Linked DNA regions of Homo sapiens: regions 1, 2 and 4 are each linked to region 3. The links are contacts of gene promoters, found by promoter capture Hi-C in human tissues and cell types (Jung and others, 2019). All regions are on one chromosome and are shown on one strand. The core of a region is centred on a gene start or on the middle of the fragment in contact, and the rest is flanking DNA. Distances in the headings are between cores, read along the strand shown.

The links. Contacts are between HindIII fragments. The study calls those that stand out against the background at their distance.
Region 1: a contact is called between a fragment that was not itself captured here and the fragment with the promoter of SPECC1 in region 3, in 1 of the 25 tissues and cell types used here (hippocampus).
Region 2: a contact is called between a fragment that was not itself captured here and the fragment with the promoter of SPECC1 in region 3, in 1 of the 25 tissues and cell types used here (hippocampus).
Region 4: a contact is called between a fragment that was not itself captured here and the fragment with the promoter of SPECC1 in region 3, in 1 of the 25 tissues and cell types used here (dorsolateral prefrontal cortex).

The regions. Positions count from the first base shown.
Region 1 is chr17:20,265,151-20,268,306 of GRCh38, reverse strand. All of the region lies in intron 12 of SPECC1 (sperm antigen with calponin homology and coiled-coil domains 1), which reads right to left. Among named protein-coding and RNA genes, the nearest start is that of FAM106B, 150 kb to the left of the region's middle. The HindIII fragment of the contact is 8,883 bases long and covers 1-3,156 here.
Region 2 is chr17:19,519,484-19,522,637 of GRCh38, reverse strand. No RefSeq gene overlaps it. Among named protein-coding and RNA genes, the nearest start is that of SLC47A1, 13 kb to the left of the region's middle. RefSeq lists an enhancer at 3,093-3,154. The HindIII fragment of the contact is 5,850 bases long and covers 1-3,154 here.
Region 3 is chr17:20,007,712-20,010,672 of GRCh38, reverse strand. SPECC1 (sperm antigen with calponin homology and coiled-coil domains 1) reads right to left here and starts at 1,314. Exons shown (of 15, transcript NM_001243439.2): 1 at 1,249-1,314. It overlaps SPECC1-DT (SPECC1 divergent transcript), which reads left to right and starts at 1,413. Exons shown (of 1, transcript NR_186461.1): 1 at 1,413-2,618. RefSeq lists silencers at 643-822, 843-1,512 and an enhancer at 1,945-2,512. The HindIII fragment of the contact is 29,689 bases long and covers 1-2,961 here.
Region 4 is chr17:20,337,238-20,340,285 of GRCh38, reverse strand. It overlaps the pseudogene CCDC144CP. Among named protein-coding and RNA genes, the nearest start is that of FAM106B, 78 kb to the left of the region's middle. The HindIII fragment of the contact is 4,138 bases long and covers 1-3,048 here.

The DNA of each region.
Region 1 (3,156 bases), core at 558-3,057, 260 kb before region 3:
TTTTTTTTCTCCAAAAGAGAAGAAGATATAGGTCTGAGCTAACAGGTTAAAACCTGGTTCAAAGACGTCATCTGTCCCTTAATGATAGTGTAGGTGTCGCCTGCTATCTGAATTCTTGCCATACAATTTCAAAAGTGGAACAGATACAGATACATTTTCAAGTAAATCCCTATCTAAACTCTTCTTTCTTTTGATCTGAAATGCAAGAACCAAACAGGAATTCAAGTAACAGTAAATACCGGTATATATTTTCGTCTAAAAGATACTTGCAAGTATCTTCATGCCACCCATGGAGGTGAAGGGTAGCTGTGCCTCATCATGCCTCCTGGGAGGTAACAGAGGACTCAGGAGAGACTTAGAGCTGAATTCCACATGTTCATCAGAGTGACTTCCAGCCCAAGATCCCCCAGCTGAGGGAAAGCAGAAGGCAAAGCAAACTGAGCGTCCCTGGCCTGGCTGAGGTCTGAGGGCATCAGGACAGAGGAGGAGACAAAGGACCCGGTGGCACTACACACAACTTGCAGTTGTCAACCTCAAAACTCCAGAGCACCCACATGGCAATTTCTGGGCACGGCCAGGACCTCAGCACTAATGCTTTAGTGCTAGAAAGTCCCTGTTTCCTGCTGGCTGCCAGCCAGGGGGCCCTTCTTGGCTCCTTCTCACGTGCCCCCTCCCTCTTCAAACCACCAAGAACAATCAGAGTCCTTCTCATGCTTTGAATTTCCCCAACTTCTGCCACAAGCCAGAGACATCACTTGGCTTCTACAGGGGTTTGTGATTAGTGGGCATATCCAGACCATCTCCCTGTGTCATATAAAGAGGAGGACATTCTACCATGGAGAGTCATGGGGGTTATCTTCAGAATTCTTCCTGTCACACCTACCCTCCCGACTTTCTGTCCCTTCAGAATTCTTACTGGAAATTACAAATGGAAATCTCTCCATCGTAACAGAAAACTAGGAGCTTAAACTAGACTTTCAGATGAAAGAAAGGGAGGGGTAGGAGTTATCTGAGTCAGGCCTGCCCTTGGCTTGGAAAACAGCCAACACACATCAGGAGTATGAAATTTGAGGACTGAGAGTAATTTAGAGGGCCTTTCCAGGAGTGACTTATTCCAAAAAGACACCAGTGTGTATGAGTTGAGCAGAATGTGAGGAAGGGCCTCCTAGGAGCGCCATTTTGAGCTTAGTGAACTGGGCCTCACTTCGTAGTGAGGGCAAACTCACATCCTTTCACTGGGTCTCAATCCTGGGCCACTCGAGATGTCAGGCAGTTGGCCCGGAGCTCGGCAGGTGGGTCTGGCTGCGATGCTCACTTCCCAGTGCTGCTGACCTGGGTCGACCACCGTGTGTCACTTCAGCTTCTATTGGCACAGTAACGACAGTAATGACCTCCTTACTCTGACCCTCCACACCTAGGCCTTGGTGGGAAATAAAGCTTCATGCAGACACCAAAGCCCTTCAAGAGAGGGGAGCAAGTGCTCAAATGTCATCTCCCTGACCACTATGTATAAATTGTACCATTCACCCAACATTCCCAACCCTCCTTCCCTGCTTTATTTCTCTCCACGGCAATACAACCTTCAAATACCGTACATATGTTACCTTTTATTTCAGTTAACTGCCAGACCCCATGAGGATTTAAGTTCCATGAGAGCAGGGACTGTTGCCTGTTTCATTCACTGTGGAATCCCCAGGACCTACAATATATATATATATTTTTTGAGACGGAGTCTTGCTCTGTCGCCCAGGCTGGAGTGCAGTGGCGCTATCTCGGCTCACCGCAAGCTCCGCCTCCCGGGTTCACGCCATTCCCCTACCTCAGCCTCCCGAGCAGCTGGGACCACAGGTGCGTGCCACCACGCCCGGCTAATTTTTTGTATTTTTTAGTAGAGACGGGGTTTCACCATGTTAGCCAGGATGGTGTCGATCTCCCGACCTTGTGATCCACCCGCCTCAGCCTCCCAAAGTGCTGGGATTACAGGCGTGAGTCACCGCGCCCGGCCCCCAGCACCTACAATATTACCTGGAGCTGAACAATATATGGAAGGAGGCTGAAAGAAACCAGCTATGACACAAATAAATGGAGAAACATTCCATGCTCATGGATTGGAAAAATCAGTATCATTCAAATGGCTATACTGCCCAAAGCACTTTACAGATTCAATGGTATTCCTATCAAACTACAAATGTCATTTTTCAAAGAATTAGAAAAAACTATTCTAAAATTCATATGGAACCAAAACAGAGTCTGAATAGCCAAAGCAATCTTAAGTAAGAAGATCAAAGCTGGAGACTCGCATTGCCTGAGTTCATGTTATATTCTAAGGCTACAGTAACCAAAACAGCATGGCACTGGTATAAAAACAGACACATACACAAGTTAGAGTATCCAGAAATAGAGCTGCAAACCTATAATCATCTGATCTTTGACAAAAACAAGCAATGGGAAGAGAATTCCCTATTCAGCAAATGCTGCTGGGATGACTGGCTGACCATACGCAGAAGATAGAAACTAGACCTCTACCTGTCACTACATATAAAAATTAACTTAAAATGGATTACAGATTTAAATATAAGACTTCGAACTATAAAAATCCTAGAAGAAAACCTAGGAAATAACTTTTTCAACATTGGCCTTAGCAAAGAATTTTTGGCTAAGTCCCCAAAAGCAAGTGCAGCAAAATAAAAAATTGACAAGTGGAATCTAACTAAACTAAAGAGTTCCTTCACAGCAAAAGAAGCTATCAACAGAGTTAACAGACAACCCATAGAATGGGAAGAAATATTCACAAACTATGCATCTAATATCCAGAATCTATAAGAACTTAAATCCACAAGCAAAAACCAAATAACCCCATTAAAAAATAGGCAAAGGAAATGAACAGTCACCTCTCAAAAGAAGACATATATACATTCAATAAACATGAAAACACGCTCAACATCCCTAATCTTCAAAGAAATACGAATCAAAACCACAATGAGATACCATCTAACACTAGCCAGGAGGCTATTATTAAAAAGCCAAAAAATAGCAGACGCTAGCGAGGCCATGGAGAAAAAGAAATGCTTATACACTGCTGGTGGGAATAAAATTAGTTCAGCCCCTGTGGAAAGCAGTTTGGAGATTTCTCAAGGTACTAAAAATAGAACATTT
Region 2 (3,154 bases), core at 594-3,093, 490 kb after region 3:
CAGAAACTCAGTAACTCAGTAGCACCACCAGTCAAGCAGATATATAAGTATTTGTAGGCTGCTTCATCCAGCAACGGCAGAATATACATTCTTCTCAAGGTAGCATGGAACATCCATGAGATAGGCCATTTTCTGGGCCATAAAACACACCTTAACAAATTCAAAAGAATAGAAACCACACAGACCAGGCATGGTGGCTCACACCTATAATCCCAGCACTTTGGGAGGCCCAGGCGGGTGGATCACCTGAGGTTGGGAGTTCGAGACCAGCCTGACCAACATGGAGAAACACTGTCTCTACTAAAAATACAAAATTAGCTGGGCATAGTTGCTCATGTCTGTAGTCCCAGCTACTCGGGAGGCTGAAGCAGGAGAATCACTTGAACCTGGGAGGCGGAGGTTGCGGTGAGCCAAGGTCAAGCCATTGCACTCCAGCCTGGGCAACAAGAGCGAAACTCTGTCTCAAAGAAAAAAAAAAAAGTTAAAGGAAGTGAGGTAAAGTGCACAGGGCTTCAGAAGAACATTTTGGGCCGGGCACGATGGCTCATGCCTGTAATCCCAGCACTTTGGGAGGCCCAAGTGGATGGATCACCTGAGATTGGGAGTTCGAGACCAGCCTGACCAACACGGAGAAACCCTGTCTCTACTAAAAATACAAAATTTAGCCGGGTGTGGTGGTGCATGCCTATAATCCCAGCTACTCAGGAGGCTGAGGCAGGAGAATCGCTTGAACCAGGGAGGCAGAGGTTGCAGCAAGCCAAGGTCGCGCCATTGTACTCCAGCGAAACTATGTCTCAAAAAAAATAAATAAAAGAAAGAAAAGAAAAAGAAAAAGAAACCACACAAAGTATGTTGTCAGGACACAATAAAATTAAACTAGAAATCAATAACAGAAAGCTAGCTGGAAAAAGCCCAAAATATCTGGAGATTAAACAACACATTTCTTTTTTGAGACAGTTTCACTCTTGTTGCCCAGGGTGGAGTGCAATGGCGCAATCTCGGCTCACTGCAACCTTCGCCTTCCGGTTTCAAGCGATTCTCCTGCCTCAGCCTCTCAAGTAGCTGGGATTACAGGAATGCGTCACCATACTCAGCTAAGTTTTTGTATTTAGTAGAAACGGGGTTTCACCGTGTTGGTCAGACTGGTCTTGAACTCCTGACCTCAGGAAATCCACCCGCCTCAGCCTCCCAAAGTGCTGGGATTACAGGTGTGAGCCACTGCGCCGGCCAACAACACGCTTTTGAGTAACACATGGGCCAAAGAAGAAATCCCAAGAAAAGTTTTAAAACATGTTGGTCATGAATTTAAATCTTATGAAAATGAAAATACAAACTATCAGAATTTGTGGGATGCAGAATTAAAAAATAGTGCTTAGGGGGATATTTCTAGCATTGACTGCATCTATGAGAAAAGAGAAAGATCTAAAATCAATCATCTAAGCTTCTACCATAGGAAACAAGAAAAAGAAGAGCAAATTAAATCCAAAGCAAACAAAAGAAAAGAAAAAAAGAAATTAGAGCAGAAGCCAATAGAATTGGAAATAGGAAATCAATAGAGAAAAACCAACAAAACCAAAAGCTGGTTCTTTGAAAAGAAAAATCATTGTGGTTCTGTGAGCACAGAATAGGAGCAGAATGGGTGTAAAGCAGGCAACCAAGAGTGAGCGTCTGACATGTATGCTCAGCAGAAGTCCATATCCTTGTCCAAGATGTCAAAGAAATCTCTTGATACATCTCTGGGCTTGAAGCACTGCCCTACAAGGTGCCCCCATGTACACCCCGACAGAGGACGCCCCTCCGCCCCACCCAGCTCACACCTAGTCATATGCAGATGTAAGACCCTGAGATTTTAAGCCCAAATGGGCAAAACATGTGGCCACATCTTTTTTATGACTTTTTGTTCAAAACATGTGGCCACATTTTAAGGGGGCCTGCCCCTCCACACCCCTGGGTACTTCTCGCAAGGTGGAGACAAGAGAGTGGGAAAAGAAATAAGACACAGAGACAAAATATAGAGGAAGAAAAGTGGGCCCAGGGGACCAGCGCTCAGCAAGTGAGGACCTGCACCAGTACTGGTTTTTGAATTCCCTCAGTATTTATTGATCACTATCTCTACCATCTCGGCGAGGGGGATGTGGCAAGACTATAGGGTAATTGTGGGGAGAGGGTCAGCAGGAAAACATGTGAGCAAAGGACTCTGTGTCAAAAATAAGTTTAAGGAAAGGTGCTGTGCCTGGATGTGCACATACGCCAGATTTATGTTTGACTTTACACATCTCAGTGCAGTAAAGAACAGTATTGCCGCCAGCATGTCTCACCTCCAGCCGTAAGGCAGTTTTCTCCTATCTCAGTAAATAGAATGTACGATCAGGTTTTACACCAAGACGTTCCATTCCCAGGGACGAGCAGTAGACAGATGCCTTCCTCTTATCTCAACCGCATAGAGGCCTTCCTCTTATCTCAACCGCATAGAGGCCTTCCTCTTTCACTAATCCTCCTCAGCACAGACCCTTTACGGGTGTCGGGCTGGGGGACGGTCAGGTCTTTCCCTTCCCACGAGGCCATATCTCAGGCTGTCTCAGTGGGGGGAAACCTGGACAACACCCAGGGTTTCTTGGGCAGAGGTCCCTGCGGCCTTCCGCAGTGCACTGTGTACTCGAGACTGGAGAATGGTGATGACTTTTACCAAGCATACTGCCTGCAAACACATTTTTACCAAAGCACATCCTGCACAGCCCTAAATCCCTTAAACCTTGAGTCAATACAGCACATGTTATCTGCCAGCACAGGGCTGGGGCTAGGTCTACAGATTAACAGCATCTCAAAGCAGAAGAATTTTTCTTAGTACAGATCAAAATAGAGTTTCTTATGTCTTCCTTTTTCTAATAGATACAATAACAGTCTGATTTCTCTTTATTTCCCCCACAACATCTTTTATGACTCAGCCCAACAATCTCCAGGCAGTGCCCAAGGTTAATGCCTAGGCCAATTGCTGCTGCAATCTGGGCTCAGGATGTGCAGACCAGAGATAGCCAAGGGTGTCTGATAACTCTAAGGGCTTGGTCGTGCTCAACCAGGATGGAGCTCAAGCCCCCAGACTGGCCAGGAGCTCAGTTGACTCAGCACTGCTCTTGAGTGCAGGTCAGAATGGGAC
Region 3 (2,961 bases), core at 65-2,564:
CAGACAATAAGATCACCTACTTGGAAGAGGCAAACGAATCAAGCGAAAAACTATTAAAACTGAGACAGGCTTTAGTATGGAGGCTCAGCTTCAGCTGTAGTTTGGGCTACCAAATTCAACTCGCTTGCTTGGAGAGTTAATCCTGCAAAGCTAATTTCTGTTGAGGTATTAGGATTGACAAGCCTGTGCTCCTCCCTCCTCCCCCATCTTCAACACTGAAATAACACGGTGTTTGGAACTGGATAACAGAATCTTCCAAAAACAAAAATTGTCCTGAAGGGCTGACTTGTGCCCTTACTCAAAAAACACTTTATCTGCTGCCTGCAGCTCCTACAGTTGCTGGTGGATAAGCCTGCCAACCAGCTCGGCGTAATTCTTCCTGCAGAGGGCAAGGAAGAGCACTTTCACAGGAAAATTTTTTTCCGAACTGTATGCCGCTTATTACATAAACTTACGTGCTGGCAAATGGAGCTCCAGCAAAATAAGATATTCAGAGTCAAACTTCCTTAGGAAAAAAAAAAAAAAAAAGCAAGCACATAACACTAATTTCCTTGCATGGGCACTGGGGAAGGAGGTCGTTACTTCCGCACGCCCGCAGGTCCGCACCACCGGGAAACCCACGGGCACCGCGCGCTGCCCCCGGGCCTTCCAGGTGCACTGCGCCGCGGCGCCCCAGCTGACCCGGGATGCGCAGCCCTAGCCCTTCCCCTGTCACCCCGGCCAGGAAGGGGCGGGAGCGCGGCGGACGCCGAGGGCGAAGGGCTTCTCGGTCCTCTGCACCACGCAGCACCCCCAAGGCACAACAGGGAGGGTGCGGGAGGCTCCCGAGACCCAGGAGCCGGGGCCGGGCGTGCCCGCGCACCTGTCCCACTGCGGCGAGGGCTGGGGTCGCCTCCAGGGCCGCAGCTGTCGGGAGCCACCTGGCTCTCAGTCCCGGGTCCCTGCGACAACCCTCGGGCCCGGAGGGGAGGAGGCGGCCACCTGCCGCTGCCACCTGCGGCACCGGTCCCACCGCTCCGGGCCGGGCAGGACAGGCCAGGACGTCCCTCCTGGGCTGGGGACAGGACACGCGACGAGGGGACCGGGGCCCCCGCGGCGAAGACGCAGCACGCCTTCCCAGAAAGGCAGTCCCGTGCCCCCACGACGGACTGCCGGACCCCCGCGCTCGCCCGCCCATCCCTTCAGACCACGCGGCTGAGGCGCAAAGAGCCGGCCGGCGGGCGGGCTGGCGGCGCGGCTAGTACTCACCGGCCCCGCTGGCTCAGCGCCGCCGCAACCCCCAGCGGCCACGGCTCCGGGCGCTCACTGATGCTCAGGAGAGGGACCCGCGCTCCGCCGGCGCCTCCAGCCATCGCCGCCAGGGGGCGAGCGCGAGCCGCGCGGGGCTCGCTGGGAGATGTAGTACCCGGACCGCCGCCTGCGCCGTCCTCCTTCAGCCGGCGGCCGGGGGCCCCCTCTCTCCCAGCTCTCAGTGTCTCATCTCCCTATCTGCTCATCCTCTGGTCGCACATAATCGATGTTTGGGCGTCCCAAGCCAGATGTGGACCCCATTTCCGCACTCTACACTGGAGGTTTTCTAAGGGTGGTGCCCGGACCAGCAGCTTCAGCCTCATCTGGGAACTTGAGAAAATGCAGATTCTCCGTCCCACCCAGCCTATTCGGTTTTTCCTGCACTAAAACCATGAAGGTGGGGCCCAGCAGTCCACATTCTCGCAAGCCCGTCAAGTGATTCTGAGGCGCCCTCCAGTTTGAGAGCTATGCTCACGGCCTCACCTCCGCCCCGCAAGGAGCCCGGTCTTGCCTGTGGCGCTAGCCGCACACGGACACCTCATCCTGCGGGGCCCGCCCCCCCGCTGCACCCTCACCGCCCAACGCCTCCTCCGGGATGCAGCGGAGGCGCCTGGAAGTCGGCAAGGTCAACATCCCCCTCAGCATCTTCCCTACCCTCACGGCTCCTCCTCCAGGGGTGCCTCATGGCCAGGGGTTAGAAAGAGCCACTGTGTTTCTTGACATGGAAGTGGCCTAAGACCTTAATGAAAACTGCAGGAGTGGAATGACAGAACCTTTGGTCATACTTGAGGGCGTGAAGCTCAAATGAGGAGGAAGGAAAGGATCCAGGGAGAATAACCAACCCTGGCAAGTTGTGGCGCCCAGGTAGAGGGGCGAGCCTAGGCTAGCGGTTCTCGACCAGGGCCGGTGTTGCCCCTCCTCGCCGCCCCGCGTACATTTGGGGAGGTCTGGAGACATTTTTGGTTGTCATGATGCGGGAGTTGCTACTGTTGCCTAAGTGGGTAGACACGAGGGTGCTCCTCAACATCCTACCTGAAGGACAGGACTGCCCCACAAGGAAGAATGATCCGGCCCCAAATAAGAAACCCTGGGCTGGTCAGCAACAACCCCTTTGTTCTGAGAAGAGAGGAGGAAAGAATAAAAGAAGTGGGGTGAAGTTTTGGTTTGGTAGAGGAAACTTGAAGACATTTTCACTGGAAAGGAAGAGAGGAAGAGGAGGGAGATGTCTGTAAGGACGAGCAAACCGGGTGACAGCTGATTTCCTCATATTGAAGTAATGAGTCCTAGTTATAATAAATTCCTAATAAAAACCCAGTTTATCCCTGCAATAAACTTGTCTTTTTTTTTTAAATATACTGCTTGATTCTGTTTGCTAATATTTTATTTACAGGCTTTGCATTGATATGCAAAAATGAGATGGGCAATAATTTTCTTTTTGAATGTCTAATGTTGTTTGGTTTCAGAATCAATGTTATGCTCACATCATAAAAAATTTGGAACCGAGGCAGGAGGAGTGCTTGAGGCCAGAAGTTCGAGACCAGTCTAGGAAACACAGTGAGACCCCCCCATCTCTACAAAAAAAAAAAAAGAAAAAAAAATGGGCATGTTTGCTTTTTCCTTTTACTCTGAACAATTTAAGGAGCATTAAAATTATCTATTCTTTGAGGTTTG
Region 4 (3,048 bases), core at 203-2,702, 330 kb before region 3:
GCCAGGAACTCTTCTTCTAATGTGTTGACCTCATTCTTAAACTTTTGCATGTCTTGCTGTAATTCTTCATGTAGATATACTTCTGATGTTCTGTCAGAATCTGGTGGTAAAGAACTCAGATTTTCTAATTTAGGTTTCAGGCTTTTATAGTTATTTGTACTGCCACTGTCACTATTTTGGTTCATATTTTTTGTCATTTGCAAATCAAACTCTTGGTCTTCTTTCATTTCAACCGTAACCACTTCTGGGTTCCTTGCTTTCTTAGTGCTTGCATCATTATGAAAGTTCTTATCTGTACTAAAAATATGTCCAATGCCTGGTTTGTTATCATTGTCGCAGTCTAATTTATTTTCATGTAAATGAAGCTTAGAAGATGACTGGCAAACATGTTCCTGGGACCCAGAGTACGGATGGTAGTATGAATGGATGATATTTTTGAGACTGGGTTCTTTTTGTTCAGGAAATGTCTCGAATACCACTGAGACAGATATTTCAGATGCATCTTCTTCCTCACAACCAGGTATGTTATTTGTCAAATTAAAGGGAATATCCTTCACATCTGTTCCTCTTGTAGAGTTATCAAGTAGTGGCTCTTCCTCAGGACAAGCCGGAATTTTGTATTTTTCATAAATTTCACCAAACCTCTGCTTTAACTCATTTATGACGAGTTTTAATTGGTTTTTCCACTCTAATTTGCCTTGTTCAATCCGCATTTCCTCAGATTTTTGCACATGAGGAAGTACTGGATATATAGGTATATCCTCTCTATCACAATCCTTAGCCATTTCTGGTTCTTGAGACGTTTTCTGCAGATGCAAAAGTGGAAGATTAATTTGCTTGTTTTGTTTCTTGGGTGTCTTCTCTGTTGGGCTACATGTTTTAAAAATAGCTTTGTCCTTAAATAACAGGTATAAACAAAGAAAAATTCACAAATAATTAAAATGAAAATTTAACTGTTAAACTTCTTCATCTAGGTTTGGCTACTCCCAAATCACTGGCTTGTAACTAAGAAGTTAAAAAAAATTGTCTTAGCTGAAAGGAGGAGAAAAATATGAACCAGCAAACTTAACTTTGTCACTGTTTGTTTGGAATAAACTTAATTCATTATGTGTTAAATCTACCAAAAATGAATTAGCAGATGATTTCTAGTGTTACAAAGGCTTCCTCACTTGAAAAGTGAGCCCCTACAGTACATGTAAGTACTACATATTACTACATGTAAGTACTATATATTACTACATGTAAGTTCTATAGATTACTAACTGGAGGGTAGGCAATCTTCAAATTATTAGGAGCCCGAATCAACACCAATCAGAAACAAAAGCAAATTCTTAAGTTTTAATTCAAATTATATACTGTAACATCATAGGGTTATATATCTAGACTATCTTCTTCAGTTCAGTTCTAATATATACTACGGTCCCCTAATAACACTAACTAAAACTTTAAAGATAATTCTTACTAAGTTTCTGCATCTAAAAAGTTAGAAAGTTATTGTTTGTACCCTAACACCAAAGATCCCATTCTGCAAGGTATGATTCCCTTAATAGGCAGTTGGGTTGATTTCATAACCCCACTCTCACTGAATGTAGACCGTGAAGTCAATGAAAGGCCACATCTTTAACCTAGGCATTAGTAACTGGCAATATAAAACTGCAAAATTTGAGCCACTGGCCATGATTACTCCTATACCATGAATCCAACTTAGTGGCCATCACTGTTAAATTGTTCATAATTTCTGTTGCTTAATAATATAAGTCAATAATTGACATTACCTTCTTTATCCCATAAGGATATTGTAAGAATGGAAGAGCAAACAAAATTCTGGAATGTTTGCCTCTACTCCAAGGGTAAAGATTAACTATAAGTTATGATAGATTCTAACAATATTGTGTTTTATAACTAGTTTAAATGTATTTAAAATTAAATATTAAGTAAGGATCTATTGATTCTCAAAGGCTAGTCTGAGAGGTAATTTCATTTGGGCTAGCATATTAAAGCAAAGAAAAGAGTATTAAACCAGAAATTTAGATTTTAGTTTAAATGTTTCCACACTTGTGGCTGCTTATTTTCGCATCCTTTAAGTCTTTCTTGCTCTTCCTCTGATGTCAGCTCCAAGTCTTGTTCTGCTGCAAAATCCAAACGTTCAGTTAAACTACTTAGAACAGTTAGATAAAAGACATAGTCTTTATAAAAATAGATTTTAAATTACATTTCATTTTATTTCATAAATTGAGAGTTTAAATGAAGCTTGATCTTTAGTGGAATACTTACTTCTTTAAGAAATAATTCTAATTCTCCAAAACTTCAACAAACCACTTTCTGGGAGACACTAGATGCCACCAGGTTAAAGAAATACAATCATGTTGAAGATTCACTCACAGATTCATCCACCCAACATCAATGAACAAAGCCATCACAAACAAAACAAAATTTTGGAATGCAGTAGCAATATTATCAGGCAATGCTGCATACTGTTCTCCATTTCATAATAGTACCTTATTAATGATTTCCAAAATGACTGTGGACACCTTTATTGGTGTACAACCTCTTCCTAACATCCGAAATGGTTCCCTGTATTATTCTGACAAATGTATTAATATTTTCATCTTTTAAAACAGACTGCTAAAAATAAATAAATAAAATACATAAAATAAAAAACAGACTGCTAGGTGAAGTTGACCCTCATCCTCATCTTTCCCCAGGTAAACAGGTATCTAGGTATCTCCTTCCTTAGGGCTGCCCTAGAACTTTACTGATTTTTCTACTGCATCTCCACCACCCGAATTGTCAATTATTGCTTTACATGTCTATTCCCTCTGCTCCTTGACTGTAGGGAACAATCTTGAAAATCATCTTTGTACAAAGAGTCATTATCTATTTTACTCAGCAATTATGTATTGAGTCTTGCTATGTGCTAGGCACTAGGATTTAAAGAGTGAAAAGAAAGCATGTCAGAGATGACTTTTCTAGAGATCCTGCCCGAGCTGAGGCTTAAAGAGTGAGGCTAGCCTAATTAGAAGGGGTAGGGGACAGGAAAGAGTGAGA